Regions from separate parts of the Homo sapiens genome. Here region 1 is linked to region 2. The links are contacts of gene promoters, found by promoter capture Hi-C in blood cells and fetal thymus (Javierre and others, 2016). All regions are on one chromosome and are shown on one strand. The core of a region is centred on a gene start or on the middle of the fragment in contact, and the rest is flanking DNA. Distances in the headings are between cores, read along the strand shown. Region 1 has its middle 27 kb from the start of IFNGR1. Region 2 holds the start of MAP3K5 (mitogen-activated protein kinase kinase kinase 5).

What was found. Contacts are between HindIII fragments. The CHiCAGO score rates a contact against its expected background, and 5 or more counts as called.
Region 1: a contact is called between a fragment that was not itself captured here and the fragment with the promoter of MAP3K5 in region 2, in 1 of 17 cell types (neutrophils). The highest score is 6.2, in neutrophils.

Annotation. Positions count from the first base shown.
Region 1 is chr6:137,242,698-137,249,962 of GRCh38, forward strand. No RefSeq gene overlaps it. Among named protein-coding and RNA genes, the nearest start is that of IFNGR1, 27 kb to the left of the region's middle. The HindIII fragment of the contact is 7,093 bases long and covers 1-6,454 here.
Region 2 is chr6:136,790,244-136,797,693 of GRCh38, forward strand. MAP3K5 (mitogen-activated protein kinase kinase kinase 5) reads right to left here and starts at 2,234. Exons shown (of 30, transcript NM_005923.4): 1 at 1,467-2,234. The coding sequence starts at 1,914. RefSeq lists enhancers at 984-1,499, 1,605-1,674, 2,465-2,694, 2,805-2,864, 3,235-3,314 and a silencer at 1,805-2,444. The HindIII fragment of the contact is 11,326 bases long and covers 1-7,450 here.

The DNA.
Region 1 (7,265 bases), core at 1,658-4,157, 450 kb after region 2:
TTTAAACAATTATGTTTTAAGCAGTAAGATTTGGAAGTAGAGAAATACATGCTATCACTATACAGGCCCATTTTACCATTAATAACATAAAAGCAGACAGTACTATATATTTTACTTATTTATTACTGTCTCTCCCTATAATTTTTTGTGTTTTTATTAATTTATGTACGCTTAGCACCTAGAATAGTACCTGGTATATAAAAGACATTGAAATCTTTGTTCAAAGAGTTAATTAGTGTTTTTGTCTTCCGTTGTAGCTCATGTAACTATTAAGGGTCCTACTGTGTGGTATTGTGTTTAAAAGATGTGAATGAGAGATAAGAGTTTCAAACAAGAAAATCTTATATTTTAGCTATTACTCCCTGAAAGGTGTAATTATGTGATGGTTATGTCTTATCTTTTGTATAAGAATTCTGAGTAGGAAAAATAAGTAATCTGTATTTATTTTATATCTCATACAAATATAACATTTTGTTACAAAAATAAATTGATACAAGGGTTGGAAGTTCTGGATCCCAGTCCCAGCTCCCTCCTTGATTATGTCTGGGTCCATGAGCACATTTATGTTTACCTTTCTGGATATAGTTCTGTTAACAGCATCACCAGGTTGGGCTAGATGCTCCCCACTATCTCCACTCTTCCTGTTCTCATTGCACCCTGGTTACCTATCGATTTCTCCCCACTTACGGCATTGTATTGAACACATCTGCCTATGTGTGTTTCCCTACTTGATTTGAGAAACTTGGACGCTACCTCACTAAAAAATAATGGCTACTATTTTTGAGTACTATCAAGTGCTATATTCTACCTATTGTATGTTACTTAGAACACCATTAAATAAGTATATCTAAGTCAATTTTGAAGAAGTGAAAATTTAAGACTTTGAGAACTTAAACAACGTGCACCAGGTCTGTAAACTTATGAGATTCCAATCTCTACTCTAACCCCAAAGTCTCTGCTCTTAGCCCTCTACACTATATCCTACTTCTTATCTACAGGATGATCATCATGTCCTGAACCCCTACTAAGTGCCAAATATTTATATCTTGATTATAATCCTGAAAATAACCTCGCACAGTAGACATGATTATTCTCAGCTTGCATCCTATAGGCCAGGTAACTGATGCGCAAAGATGACAAGTAATCTCCCCCCCAGCCATACAACAATACCTGTGGGGCAGTCTGGTACTTCTTGTTGCAAATTATCTCAAAGCTAGTTGATATTTATGCTTTCCTTCACCTCCTACCCATTCATGTTCCCTTTACCTTTAGCCAGCGCCTTAGCTACTTGGGATTCTTTATATGATTAAATGCTTTTTTCACTTGATTGTTTTTCTAGTTTTTTTCTCTTTCTCTTTTTTTTTTTTTTTTGAGACAAAGTCTTGCTCTGTTGCCCAGGCTGGAGGGCATTGGCATGATCGCGGCTCACGGCAACCTCTGCCTCCCAGGTTCAAGCGATTCTCTTGTCTCAGCCTCCCCAGTAGCTGGGATTGCAGGTGTGCACCACCACGCCTGCTAATTTTTGTATTTTTAGTAGAGACGAGGTTTTGCCACGTTGGCCAAGCTGGTCTCGAACTCCTGACCTCAAGTGATCCACCTGTCTTGGCCTCCTAAAGTGCTAGGTTTACAGGCATGAGCCACCATGCCCGGCCCTTGATTGTTTTCAAACCTTCACTCCTGAAGTGTCTGAGCCCTTGGTGGGCCTACCTCGGTTGGATTGTTCCATTCTACAAAATGTATCACTCAATACAAAAGTCTTGACATACATTCCCTGCCCCTAAAAGGATTTAGACAGGAAGAATAAAAAGAGAAATGCATGCAAGTTTTGTTAATTTTACATTCACATGGGGATGTTCACAAGAGAGGGAAGCCTCAAGAAGCGGCCCAAGTAAGATGCTTTTATACTTTTTAGATAAACAACAATAAATTTGTGAAGAAATGACAGGGGAAAGGGGATCTGGCTAGGGATAGTACATTCTAGGGGAGTCACTAGGAGGTATTTGGAGTATGTAAAACTAGTGGAAGATAAGGGTTACTTCCAGAAGTTTATTTACCTAGGCCTGTTGCAGCACCAAATCTCAGTCTCCAGTGATAACGAATATTCTTTTACCCAGGTAAGGAGAAGGCAGCCCTCCCAAAAGAATCTTTTTTGGCTTGCTACATGCAGGAAAAGACAGGGCAACTAGACTTTTTCTGAAACTGTAATTTTTCCAGTGTTTTTTAGCTCAAAATATACCAATTTGTTATATTTGGGGATGATGTTTCCTTCACTTCTTCATCGTAGAAGCAGAAATTCCAAACACCTCTTTGAGAGTTACTCATTCTCTGGGTATCTTCCACGTATATATGAAATATACATGTTAATAAATGTCTGTTTGTTTTTCTCTTGTTAATCTGTGTTTTGTAATAGGGGTCTGTTTCAACTATATATTGGGGTTTTATTTTTCCCTACCCATTCATGCACCAATCAATCTAGCATCAATCAAGCTATATAAAACAACAACTGGTAAGTTCAGGAGAAGTGTGCATGGCTCATCAAACACCCTGTTATTTGCCCAGGAAGCTAACACATTGCTGTTGGCTGTTGTGTGTGCCTGAGGGAAGGGATAGAGGCTTACATCCTAGCTTTTGCTTTTCCAAGTATGCTTAAGGAGTGAGCGTGTGTGCACTTTCTCAGCTTGGAGAGTTCTGATGTGAGGTGAGGTTCGTTTATTATGCCCTCAACACTCCTTATCCTGTTGCTCAGGGGACCTTTCTGAATCTCACTTTGCACAGGTCTTCCCCAAAGCTGCCTCCTGGGCTGTCATCTCCTGGTCCCAAGGGGTGGCCTGAGTGGGACTGGGGGAAGAATGATCAGGAAGCAGTTGGTCTGCCTTGCCTGCTGTTACTCTTCTCAGTGACCTGGTTTCAGGGTTGTCCTGATGTGATGCCACAGCCTCTGACAAGTGCCATAGATCCTGGCTGGTGATGATCCAGCAGGGCACACGTGGTGGAGAAATGGCCACCACCAGAAAGCTCTCCGCAGCCCATCCCCGCCTGCTGCACCTGTGGTCTCTTCTGCTCCAACCCTGGGATACAGGCTTTTTTATCTTGACTAGGGTTTCTCAGAGTCTTTATGTCCTGATCCATCATCCACTTTCTTTTCACCATGACACTTCTGGGCTCAGTTTGGGGAGGAATGATGGTATTCAGCATTAGTTCACCATCTGGTGAGGAACTAGAATCTTTTATGCATCTTTATATTCCCTTCCTTAAGATGCTTAAGGTATGTCCTAGAACAGTAGTTCCCTACATTTTTGGCACCTGGGACCAGTTTTGTGGAAGACAGTTTTTCCACAGATGAGGGCAGGGGATGGCTTCGGGATGAAACTGTTCCACCTCAGATCATCAGGCTTCAGATTTTCATAAGGAGCATGCAACCTAGATCCCTCATATGTGCAGTTCGCAATAGGGTTCGTACACCTAGGAGAATTGAATGCCACCTGCTGATCATAAAAAACATAAAAAACTAAAAAAAAGGAAAACCACTTTGTCTATGATCTTTAGACTTATTTATGTTTAAATTGTTTTTTTCTGTTTAATTTTTAAACAGGAGGTGGAACTCAGGCGGTAATGTTCGCTGCCGCTCATCTCCTGCTATGCAGCCTGGTTTCTAACAAGCCATGGACTGGCCCTGGTCCACGGCCTGGGGACTGGGGGCACCTGTCCTAGAACACTGACCTGGACTGCCTCACCAAGTTTAGTATGAAGGACAAGTCTGTTTCATTGTGAGGAAAAACTATGTTAGAAAAATATAAATATAAATATATAGTATGCTATACTTAAGCTAGTATAATTTAGTGCATAATAACTGTGAAGTAAATGACCGCTAAATAAATAAGACTTTGGATGAGCAGCTAGAGCAGGCTGCACACCACTGTGACAGCATTATTTCTCAGTGCTACAGCAGTTAAGTGCTACTTAAAGAGAAGAACAGATTACTAAAAGGTTGATTTGAACAAATCCTTTAATACATTTGCTTGTTGTTTGGGATTTGTTATTTCAAAAATACTTTAACTTCTCAATTTTGACCCAAACACCGTTAATTGTTTGTGAGTGAGCTTTGTAAAACTGAATGCAGAAGTTTTGATTGTGAGGCAAAAACTCTCTCATCCTGTTTTAAGGAAGATCTACATGCCCTTCTTGGTGATATTCTAGGAAGCAAAAGGAGAAGTGCTCTCTGGGAGATGAATTTCACTACCCTTGTTTTCCCCCTCCTTACAAGATTGGAGCAAATTCCCACTTATTTAGCAAGCAAAACATACTTCATAATTTCCAAATAAGAAGTAAAGTTTGCCATGTACACATCTGGAACCTGTGCATCTAGTCTCAGTTTACAACAAATAATACTTGTATTCTATGAATTCACCCAAAAGCTCAGTTTCGAGTTGACTCAATTCATGAGGAAAGTGCAATTAAGGTAGCTGATATTGATGACAGTTTAAGTAAAATATTAACCATTCACCCCTAGTACGATTTCAGGTTCTAGCTTGTTTCAAATTAAATCACAATATCAAATTAGATCACCAGAATTATTTAGTGTAACTCTTTGTAAAGTTGCCTTTACTAATGTAACTTAATCTGCCTTATTTGAATGTCTTTGACATTCTTGAATGTTGATATGAGAAATGGTCCTATGGAATTAAGGTTTCTGCATCTTTTTAGAAGACTCTGTTGCAAAAATTAATAATTCTGCAAGAGCTACCATTCACAGAGTACATCGGATGACCCAGGCACATGCTTTACTGAATTTAATTCTCACTATAGTCTTTTAGGTGTATATTATAATCCTTACTTTACATATGAAGAAACCGAAGCTATGTTAAACAACTTGCTCACACCTAATAAGTGCTTGACACAAGATTGAAACCCAGGTCTGTTAGATCTCTAAGTTTGTGGCCTTAACCAATATTTTATATTGTAATTATGCTATATGTGTAGAATTACTCATATAAAATGGTAAGAAATTGGGAGGAACTACATTGTAGAGCCAGAAGTCTGACTGGGATGGCAAGCTACAATCAGGATGATCTTTGGCACATATGGGCTTGCCTTGAAATTTCTAGATTCCATTTTGTCAGAAGCTGGATAAAGACTGGACTTTGGTCACCCAACCCTGCTGAAGACTCAGATTATTCCTGACTTGGACATTAAAGGGAAACTTAGTTCCATGGGCAAGGGTGTCTAGGACACTCAGGTAACCACATGAACAGGAGCTTACCTTTGACTTCAGGGCCTTCAATGAGTCATAGGTTAGGAAATCCTTATCTAAGCCATGCTAGTTCCCAGTTTTTCTTGGCTTCTGGGAAGCCCTGTTTCAAATGAAATACTCAATTCCAATATTTTCCTGAATGTTATTATGTTCTTCTTTCCCTCTAAGTCAGTAGACTTCAAACTGTGTTCCACATAGTTCTTTGAGTTCCACAGGCCCTCTTTTAGGGTGCCCCATTGCTTGAGGAGAAGATGGAAGGGATGGAGCTGTGGGCAGGCATCCTGCCCCTTAGTCCAAGCAGCTTCAAGGCCACAGGCATGAAAGGACATTAGCTCAGCTCTACCACTGCCTAGTGATTTGATTTCTTTATGCCCCAGTGTCCTCATCTATAAAAAGGTACTAATAGTCCTCTCTTGTAGGTTTCAGTCATGACAAAAGGACTAAATGCATGTATGACACTCAGAACCCTGCCTGACAAAAAGCAAGCACCCAGGAGTTGTTAGTCATTATTATTGCTTGACTATGCTTTTAAATAAAATGTTTTTTATAATGAAGAACACTGAAACTAAAAAAAAAAAGGAAAACCACTTTGTCTATGATCTTTAGACTTATTTATGTTTAAATTGTTTTTTTCTGTTTAATTTTTATTTGTATGTTATTTTCACGTAAATGAGATTTAATTCATTCCCAGTCTGCCATTTTTGATCTACCAAACTACCTCCTCATAAATGGTCATCCCTGACTTCCCAGTGAGAAACTTGGAAATTGCTTTTATTTCTTGGCTGACAGATCTGATAAATGAGTGTTAGAAGGAAAACTTTAGCTAAAGTAAATTTAACGGAATTTAATTGAGCCAAGAACAATTTGTGAATGAAGTAGCCTCCCAAGCTAGAGTAGGCTCAGAGAGACACCAGTGCAGCCACGTGATGTAAGAAGATTTATGAACAGAAAGAGAACAGGGAAGCACAGAAAACGGAAGTGAGGTACAGAAGCAGCTGGATTGGTCACAGCATGGTGCCTGCCTTATTTGAACACGGTTGAAAAGGTTGGCCCTCTCTGACTGGCCAAAACTCAGTGTTTGGCACAAGAGTAGGTTACAGTCTGTTTACAAATCCATTGAGGTTATAGTTCCTTAGGTACAGAGAAGCCTTTAAGTCAAACTTAAAATACATAAGGAGACAGCTGTAGGCCAAACTTGATTTAAGCTTCTTTGCCTCTCACTTTGCTACTGGCTTCACTGCCTCAGGTGCTCTGTGCTTGAGACAACTTAAGGTTGAGACCCTTTAAAATATTTTGCTGTCCTCTTTGCAGATGAGAGTGTATTAGTCTATTCAGGCAGCTATAAGAAAACACAATAAACTGAGTTGCTTATAAACATTAGAAGTTTATTTCTCTCAGTTCTGGAGGAAAGTCCAAGACCAACACACAGGCAGACTGGGTGCCTGGTGAGGGCTCTCCTCCTGGTTCACTCTTCCTGTGGGCCTGTTTTATAATGGAGCTAATCCCATCCATGAGCACTCCACCCTCATGATCTAATGACCTCCCAGAAGCCCCATCTCTTAATATCATCACCCTGGGGATTAGGAATTCAACATGTGAATTTCAGGGGGACACAAACCCTTAGACCATAGCAGAGGATACAAAGAAGTAAAAAAAGATAGATAACAACAAAAGAAAAATAATGGCTATTACTAGTCATTTTAATTTTTTTTTTTACTTTCCTCGCTCCCCCTTCCTACTTTTGAAACATTTTTAAAGTTTTCAATGAGAAAAGAAAAGCCCAAACATTATTAATTTTATTGTATTTTTTCCCCAGTAAAATATATCATGCATACAAACTGGTAGAAATAACGTACGTTCACTGTTTTAATAAGGAGAATGAAATGAGCCTCACTGAGTGTAATCTTGGGTTTGCCCTTCACCTGGCTCCCTCTTCACTGCCTCACTGGCTCTGGGCTTTAGGGAGAGGATGTCTATGGACACCATCTGCAGCCTCCTTTGCCTTTCAACTTCC
Region 2 (7,450 bases), core at 984-3,483:
TTTCAAATTAGCTTAGAGTTTAACATTTTTTTTCTAGAGCCCTAGGAAAAAAACGCCCAATCAGTGCAATAAAAATAGGCTCAAGTGTTCAGTTGGGTATTTTCCTCTCATATCTTTTAGTTCTTTGAAGTTTCTTCCAAATTATAATCCAAAAATAAGAGTGCTACAATTTTTAGAAAAGTTATGTTGATGTAACTTTTATAGCAAGCTACCCAAAGAATCAAGCTATATTATAGCCATGCTCAGTTATGAAGACCAAAACTATTTTAAAAATACCAGAACGAGAAAGTCCTAGTTTATTTAGTCTGGCTTCCTTAACATGAAGGTCTTGTTGTTCTCAAAATATTCAGCTTTGGCTGAATTCCAAAACTGACATAAGCCCACTTCAGGTGTTTGGAAGACACTAAAGAGAATCAGAATTGAAAACAAGATTGGAAAATAAAGCCTTTTATGTGATCACAAATGCAAGAAGTGTATTGTTTTGAAACTACTAAACCAAGTTTTTACCCACAAATGTAAACATAAATATGTATATATTCTCAACACTGGACGTACAGGGGACTAAAGGTTAATTTCCATAATATGGTATTATTCCTAACATTTGCTAACAGCTAAGTGCTTCAGTTACTAGAACTGCCTTAACATTTTCTGAAATTTGAGATAGGTTGAAAGATACATTTCTTTCATGGATTATGCTAGCAATCACTTTAATGGCGAAACTAATCTTATTATTAGGATAGCATACAGGTGTTTTAGACAATGTTAAATTACAAACTTTCTAGCCCACCATGGTTTATGGGGTAATAAAAAACAGGCCCTGGTTCTTTCACCAAAATCCTTACAAAGATAACACACAAGTTCAGTGTAAGTTGTAATGTTATTGCCTTTGGAAGCACTGTAATTACTTCAAAGTCTGGGTTGGTGAGAGGAAATTCAAGCTACTAAAACTTATCGAAGGTAAGGTGAGTTGGGAAGATCATCACATGGCATGCAAATTAATATAGTTACACTCTGCGTGCATGGTATGTCATCGTTCCCGTACTCTCAAAACTACACAGAGAAAAGGAGAACCTCATCTAAAACGGTCACAGGTATATGCAGAAAGAAAACAGGGACCAAACCTCACAGAAGCGAAACCGAGACACTGAAAGGAGAAAGACTGACTGGGGCAAATATCTCACACTGCTGGAGAACAGTTCAAGTCGATCGCATGGACCCAGGGCTCCAGCGCTGGGCGGTGGGTGGATCCATAGGTCTATCGCACAAGTACACACAGACTCTTGCACAAGCACACACGCTCTCTCCGGAGCGGCGAGCGACAGGAGCAGTCACGCAGCGGCGCTCGCTGCCCCCAAAGTGGGGCAAGAAGTAAATGCTTCCCGCCCAGAAAAATGAAATGCCCCGAAGACCGCCAGATTAAACGCGGGTCCCGACCGCGCGGGATGGGAAAGGGGTCACACACGCACCTGCATTGTAAAAGCGGTCCAGCACGGTGGTTTCTCCAAAGTCGAGTTTCCCAAAATGCAGGGTTTCCAGGGTGGCGCCCACTGTCTCGCACGCCTCCCGCAAGCTCTGCAGGGCCTCGCTCTCGGCCACCACCAGTTGCCCTTGGCTCGCTTCGTTGATCACATATGCCACCGTGGTCCGTCGGCTGCCCCCGCCAACAGAGCTGCCCCGGCCTCGGGTGGCACTGCTCGAGGAGGTGGCCGCCGGACAACCGATGCCAGGGGCAGCGGCGCTCTCCACGTTCCAGAAGCTGCCCGGCGGCGGCGGTGGCAGCTGGTGCTCCTCGCCCTCGCCCACCGCCGCCGCTCCTCCCCTCCTGCAGATGCCGCCCTCGGGGATGGTGCAGAAGCCCGAGGGGGCGAAGGGTGGCACAGAGAAAGTGATGCCCTCGTCCGCCTCCGTGCTCATCTCTCCGGGCCGGGCAGCAACGGCGGCGGCGTCCCCCGCCCAGCCGCACCGCCTGGCCAGCCACAGCTCGGGGCTGCTCCGCGCCCGCCGGGCTAAGCAGCTGCCATCGCGCGCCGCGCCCTCGCCGCCGCGCCGCCGCCTCCTCTCCGGCGCCCTCTCCCCCGAGGGCACGCCGCTGCCCGGCGGCGGCTCGCTCCTCCTCGGCGCCTCCGTGGCCGCGCCGCTCGCCCTCTGCAGAGTTTAGAGTACAAGGGGTGGGGAAGCCGGGTGAGCGGGAAGGGACGGAGCTTCCTTTTCTTGGCCGGCTGACAAGTCGGCTCGCAAACCTGCGCCGCGGTGCAGCTCAAGGGCGCCGCGCTCGGGGTGCAGCCCGCCCTCGCCACCCGCCGCGCCGCGCCGCGCCGCGCCGCGCAGCTCCTTCCGTCCCGGCCGCTCTGGGAGGGGCCAGGAAGGGCGCCCCCTGGGTGCGGAGCTACCTGGCGCGCACCTTACGAGCGGGCTGGCTCCCCAGGCGGCGTCCCGGAACAGCAGCAGCGGCAGCCGAAAGGACCCTCCTCCCTCTTAGGCGGCAGCTCGCCTTCATCGGGTGGATTTCCTCCTCCTTGCCTGGCCTCGTTTCTCTTTCGATCGCCTCCGCCGCGTGGTCCCGGCGCCAGCCTCGTCGTTCCTTGCAGACGCTCTCCCTCTCCACCACCAGCTTCTGGCCACCCACTCGTAGCGGCACCGAGGGTCAGGGCCAGCCCCCAAGGAGGGCGCTGCTAGGAAGCTCGAGCCCGGACTGAACTGACCGCGCTGCGGCCCTGGGACCCCAGCCCTCCTCTGAGTGCTGCGCGTGGCATAGGGTCCCAGTCTTCACCCACCCGGCCCCCACCTACGAAGACCTGGAGCGCAAGCGATTACGGGGTGGCGCAGAAAGTCCCTCGAGGCAATACTCGGTCTTCGGAGTCCGCCCCTGAAGCATTTCCAGTGTTCCCCGCGACTAGGGCGCCCCCCTCCGGGCCTTGGCGGCCTGGTGGACTGGGACCGTGCGCGGCGCTGGCAGGATAGGCTCCGGGAGACCCACGTTGCGCGAGGCAGGAGGTTGTACATAGCGCCCTGGAGCCAGGGCCTGCACTGGAGGTTGCTTCATTAGTGACTGTGGCACTCCAGAAGTGGCTGGCTAAATTGATCAGGTTCTCCCATGTACTTTTCCTTTTAAAATTTCCAGTGGCTCATTCCGTTATCAGTAATGAGTAATTGATTAGTGCCAACTGCCGAAGGACTTAGTATTCTCATTTAGGATCTTAATTCCCCCACAAGCGCCAGATACTTAAGATAGAAGATGGAGTCTCTACCCGACTCCACAAATTATCAACAAGATGAAACAGGGGAATAACGTGACCTATTCTATTTTTTAAACTGCATCACGCGAGGCCGGGAGGGAAATACCCAGATTGTTTAAGAGCAATCAAAAAAAGTACCTGCTTATTTGGGGAGCAAAGAACAGATGTGTAAGTTCCCAGAGAACCCCAGAATGCTGTAATTGTTAGGAAAGCCAGTGCAAGTTACAACTGAGTAAAGAAACAGGTTTTGTACTTCCCATCTCCAGGAACTGAGACTAGTGAGTCCTGTGAAAAAGGCAGAAGAAAATGTAAATTACTTTTTTTTTTTTTTGAGACGGAGTTTCGCTCTTCTTGCCCGGGCTGGAGTGCAATGGCGCGATTTCGACTCCCTGCGACCTCTGCCTCCCGGGTTCAAGCGATTCCCCTGCCTCAGCCTTTCGAATAGCTGGGATTACAGGCATGCGCCACCACACCAGGCTAATTTTGTATTTTTAGTAGAGACGGGAGGGGGAGGGGTGTGGGGTTCACCATGTTGGCCAGGCTGGTCTCTAACTCCTGACCTCAGGTGATATGCCCGCGTCGGCCTCCCAAAGTGCTGGGATTACAGGCGTGAACCACCCAGCCCAGCCATGAATTACATTTCAAACTGGGTAAGAAGGAAGGATAAAATAGCTGAATAGTAAAGAATTAAAGGAAAGTCTGGGCGCAGTGGCTCACGCCTGTAATCCCAACACTTTGGGAGGCCGAGGCGGGCAGATCACTTGAGGTCAGGAGTTCAAGACCAGCCTGGCCAACATGGTGAAACCCCCGTCTCTACTAAAAATACAAAAATTAGCTGGACGTGGTGGCAGCCGCCTGTAATCCCAGCTACTCGAGAGGCTGAGACAGGAGAATCGTTTGAACCCGGGAGGTGGAGGTTGCAGTGAGCCGAGATGGCGACACTGCACTCTAGACTGGGCGACAGAGCGAGACTCCATCTAAAAAAAGAAAAAGAAAAAGAATTAAAGGAAAGAGTTCTTTAATTTTCTCCAAGGTGGGAGGATTGCTTGAGCCCAAGAGTTCAAGATCAGCCTGGACAACATAGTGAGACCCCCATCTTAAAAAAAAATAATAATTAAAGGAAGGAAGGAAATAGTCATGAGGAAAAACACCTAGCCGCTACACAACTGTATCAATGAATCAATGTGACATTAGATTTTTCTAAAGGTGTATAAAATAATAGAAGTAAATTTCTAGTAAGGAAACTTTATATTCTTCATGTAAAATGGAATCTATGTGACCCACACTAGCTTTTGGAATTAATATCAATAGTAAAATAGGTAGTGAATCAGTGATTATACTGAAACAAAATGTTGCTGAGCTAGTAATAGTTATGTGCCTTTTAATATTTTCAACAACTTGTCAAACCTCCAAAACCTTGTAGGAGTAAGATAATCCTCCCCGCTATCCTCACCAAGAACCACAAACTCTGGAAATCGATGAGGTTCATGTGTGGAAAACTAAAACGCCTAAATGCTCAAGTAGCATTTTACTGTAGAAATACAAAATCTGAAATTATATATCAAGCTATTTTCCAAAGCTGTAACTTTTTATACCCTCTCACTTTGTGCTTTCCTTCCAGATCCTTTCAGAGCCATTTTCATACACAATTTTTATTTTTTGTTTTACTTTGCTGGCTTTTTTGATTTATTAACTTTAAATATGTTTTTTATGTTAGGCACCCAAACCCCAATACAATGTTGAAATTCTGCTTCTAGCTGGTCCAGAGATTCTCCCTCTACCTAAAAGGCACGGTTTAGGTAATTTATGTTCCATAGCATAGGGTTATGAGATAATGAGGAACTAGCTGGCAAGATTCTGGAAGAAAGGACAGGAATCCAGAGGGTGAGTCTACAGTCAGGGTTCCCTTTGGCTGTGGGATTTTTGTGGATCTGAATTAGGCAGCTGAAAGGCTGAAGTGAATTTTTTTAATGAAAAATAACGGTATTTTGCAAAACAAAACAAAAAGAATGGTGACACCGTTGTGCATTTTCACAAATCTTTTTAATGTCTGGCTTAATAGATGACAGTGGATTCTCATTTCTGCTTCTACATTCATGCTGTTGCAGCATGTTGTTTTGGTTGAAGGGTATAAAGAAAATCTGGAGAAGTTTCTGAAGTGTAGGAGGTATTTGAAGAAGTACATGAAGAAAATACTCTGGGAGGAGCACAGTCACTCCCACTGTGAAGGCACACATGAATTCCTAAAAATCACTGAGCTGTGCAAAATAGTGCTTTTTTTAAAGTAATTTCAAGTTTTATTTTAGATTCGGGGGTACATGTGCAGGTTACATGGATATATTGCATGATGCTCAAGTTTAGGGTACGATTGTTCTTGTCACTCAGGTAGTAGAAAGAGCACCCAACAGTTGGTTTTTCAACCCTTGCTCCCTCCTTCCCTCCCGTCCGCAGTGTCTGTTGTTACCATCTTTATGTCCATGTGTATCCAATGGGACCCTCTCCTGGGAAGGTCTTAAGACCCACAGTCAGAAAGGTGGGGGGTTGTTAGCAGGTAAAAGGAGAGCAGGAAAAAATTAGAGGCCTGCCTCTGAGGCCTAACACACTCAACATAACAGAAGACTATAACGAGGGTTATGGGAGTTACAAGCCAGAAACCACAGATGAAAACCAATATATATCGTAACACCACACTCTGTTCATAGTTTCTTTGGTTGTGCAGAAGCTGTTTAGATTAGGTCCCGTCTGTCAGTTTTTCGTTTTGCTGCAAATTGCTTTTCAGGACTTAGTCATAAATTCTTTCCCAAGGCCGATGTCTAGAATGGTATTTCCTAGGTTTTCTTCTATGATTCCTAGGGTTTGAGGTCTTACATTTAAATCTTTAACCCATCTTGAGTGAATTTTTGTATATGGTGATGGGTAGGGGTCCAGTTTTATTCTGCATAAGGCTAGCCAGCACCACTTATTGAACAGGGAGTCCTTCCCCATTGCTTATTTTTATCGACTTTGTTGAAGATCAGATGGCGGTAGGTGTACGGCTTTATTTCTGAGTTCTCTACTCCGTTCCATCAGTCTGAGTGTCTGTTTTTGTACCAGTACCGTGCTGTTTGGGTTACTGTTGCCTTATAGTACAGTTTGAAGTTAGGTAATATGATGCCTCTGGCTTTGGCTTTAGCTATTCAGGCTCTTTTGGGGTTTTATTTTATTTTATTTTATTTTTTCCTGCTGTTCTACAGGCTCCTTTTTGGTTCCATATGAATTGTAGAATAGTTTTTCTAATTCTGTGGAAAATGATGTTGGTAGTTTCTTAGGAATACCATTGAATCTGTAGATTGCTTTGGACAGTGTGGCCATTTAAACAAGATTGATTCTTCCAATCCATCAGCGTGGAATATTTTTCTGTTTGTTTGTGTCATCTATGATTTCCTTCAACAGTGTTTTGTAATTCTCCTTGTAGGGATCTTTCACTTCCTTGATTGGATGTATTCCTAGATTGTGTGCGTGTGTGTGTGTGTGTGTGTGGCTATTATAAATGGAACTGTGTTCTTGACTTGTCTCTCAGCTTGAACGTTATTGGTATATGAAAATGCTACTGATTTTTATACATTGATTTTGTATCCTGAAACTATACCGACATTGTTTATCAATTCTAGGAGCCATTTGGTGGAGTCTAGGTATAGAATCTTGTCTTCAGGGGATGAGGCGCAGTGGCTCATGCCTGTAATCCCAGGACTTTGGAAGGCCAAGGCGGGTATATCACTTGAGGCCAGGAGTTTGAGACCAGCCTGGCCAACACAGTGAAGCCCCATCTCTACTAAAAATACTGAAAAACAAATTAGCTGAGCATGTAGTCTGTAGTCCCAGCTACTTGAGATGGAGGTTGCAGAGAGCCGAGATCGTGCCACTGCACTCCAGCCTGGGTAACAGAGTGAGATTCTGTCTCAAAAAAAAAAAAAAAAAAAAAAGATTCTTATCTTCAGGGAAGAGAGATTATCTGACTCCTTTTCTTATTTGGATGCTTTTTATTTCTTTCTCTTGCCTGATTGCTGTGGCTAGGACCTCCAGTACTATGTGGAATACTGAGAATGGGCATCCTTGTCTTGTTCCTGTTCTTGAGGGCAATGTCTTTAGCTTTTGCCTGTTCAGTATTTGTTAGCTCTGGGTTTGTCATAAATGGCTCTTATTATTTTGAGGTATGTTCCTTTGATGCCTAGTTT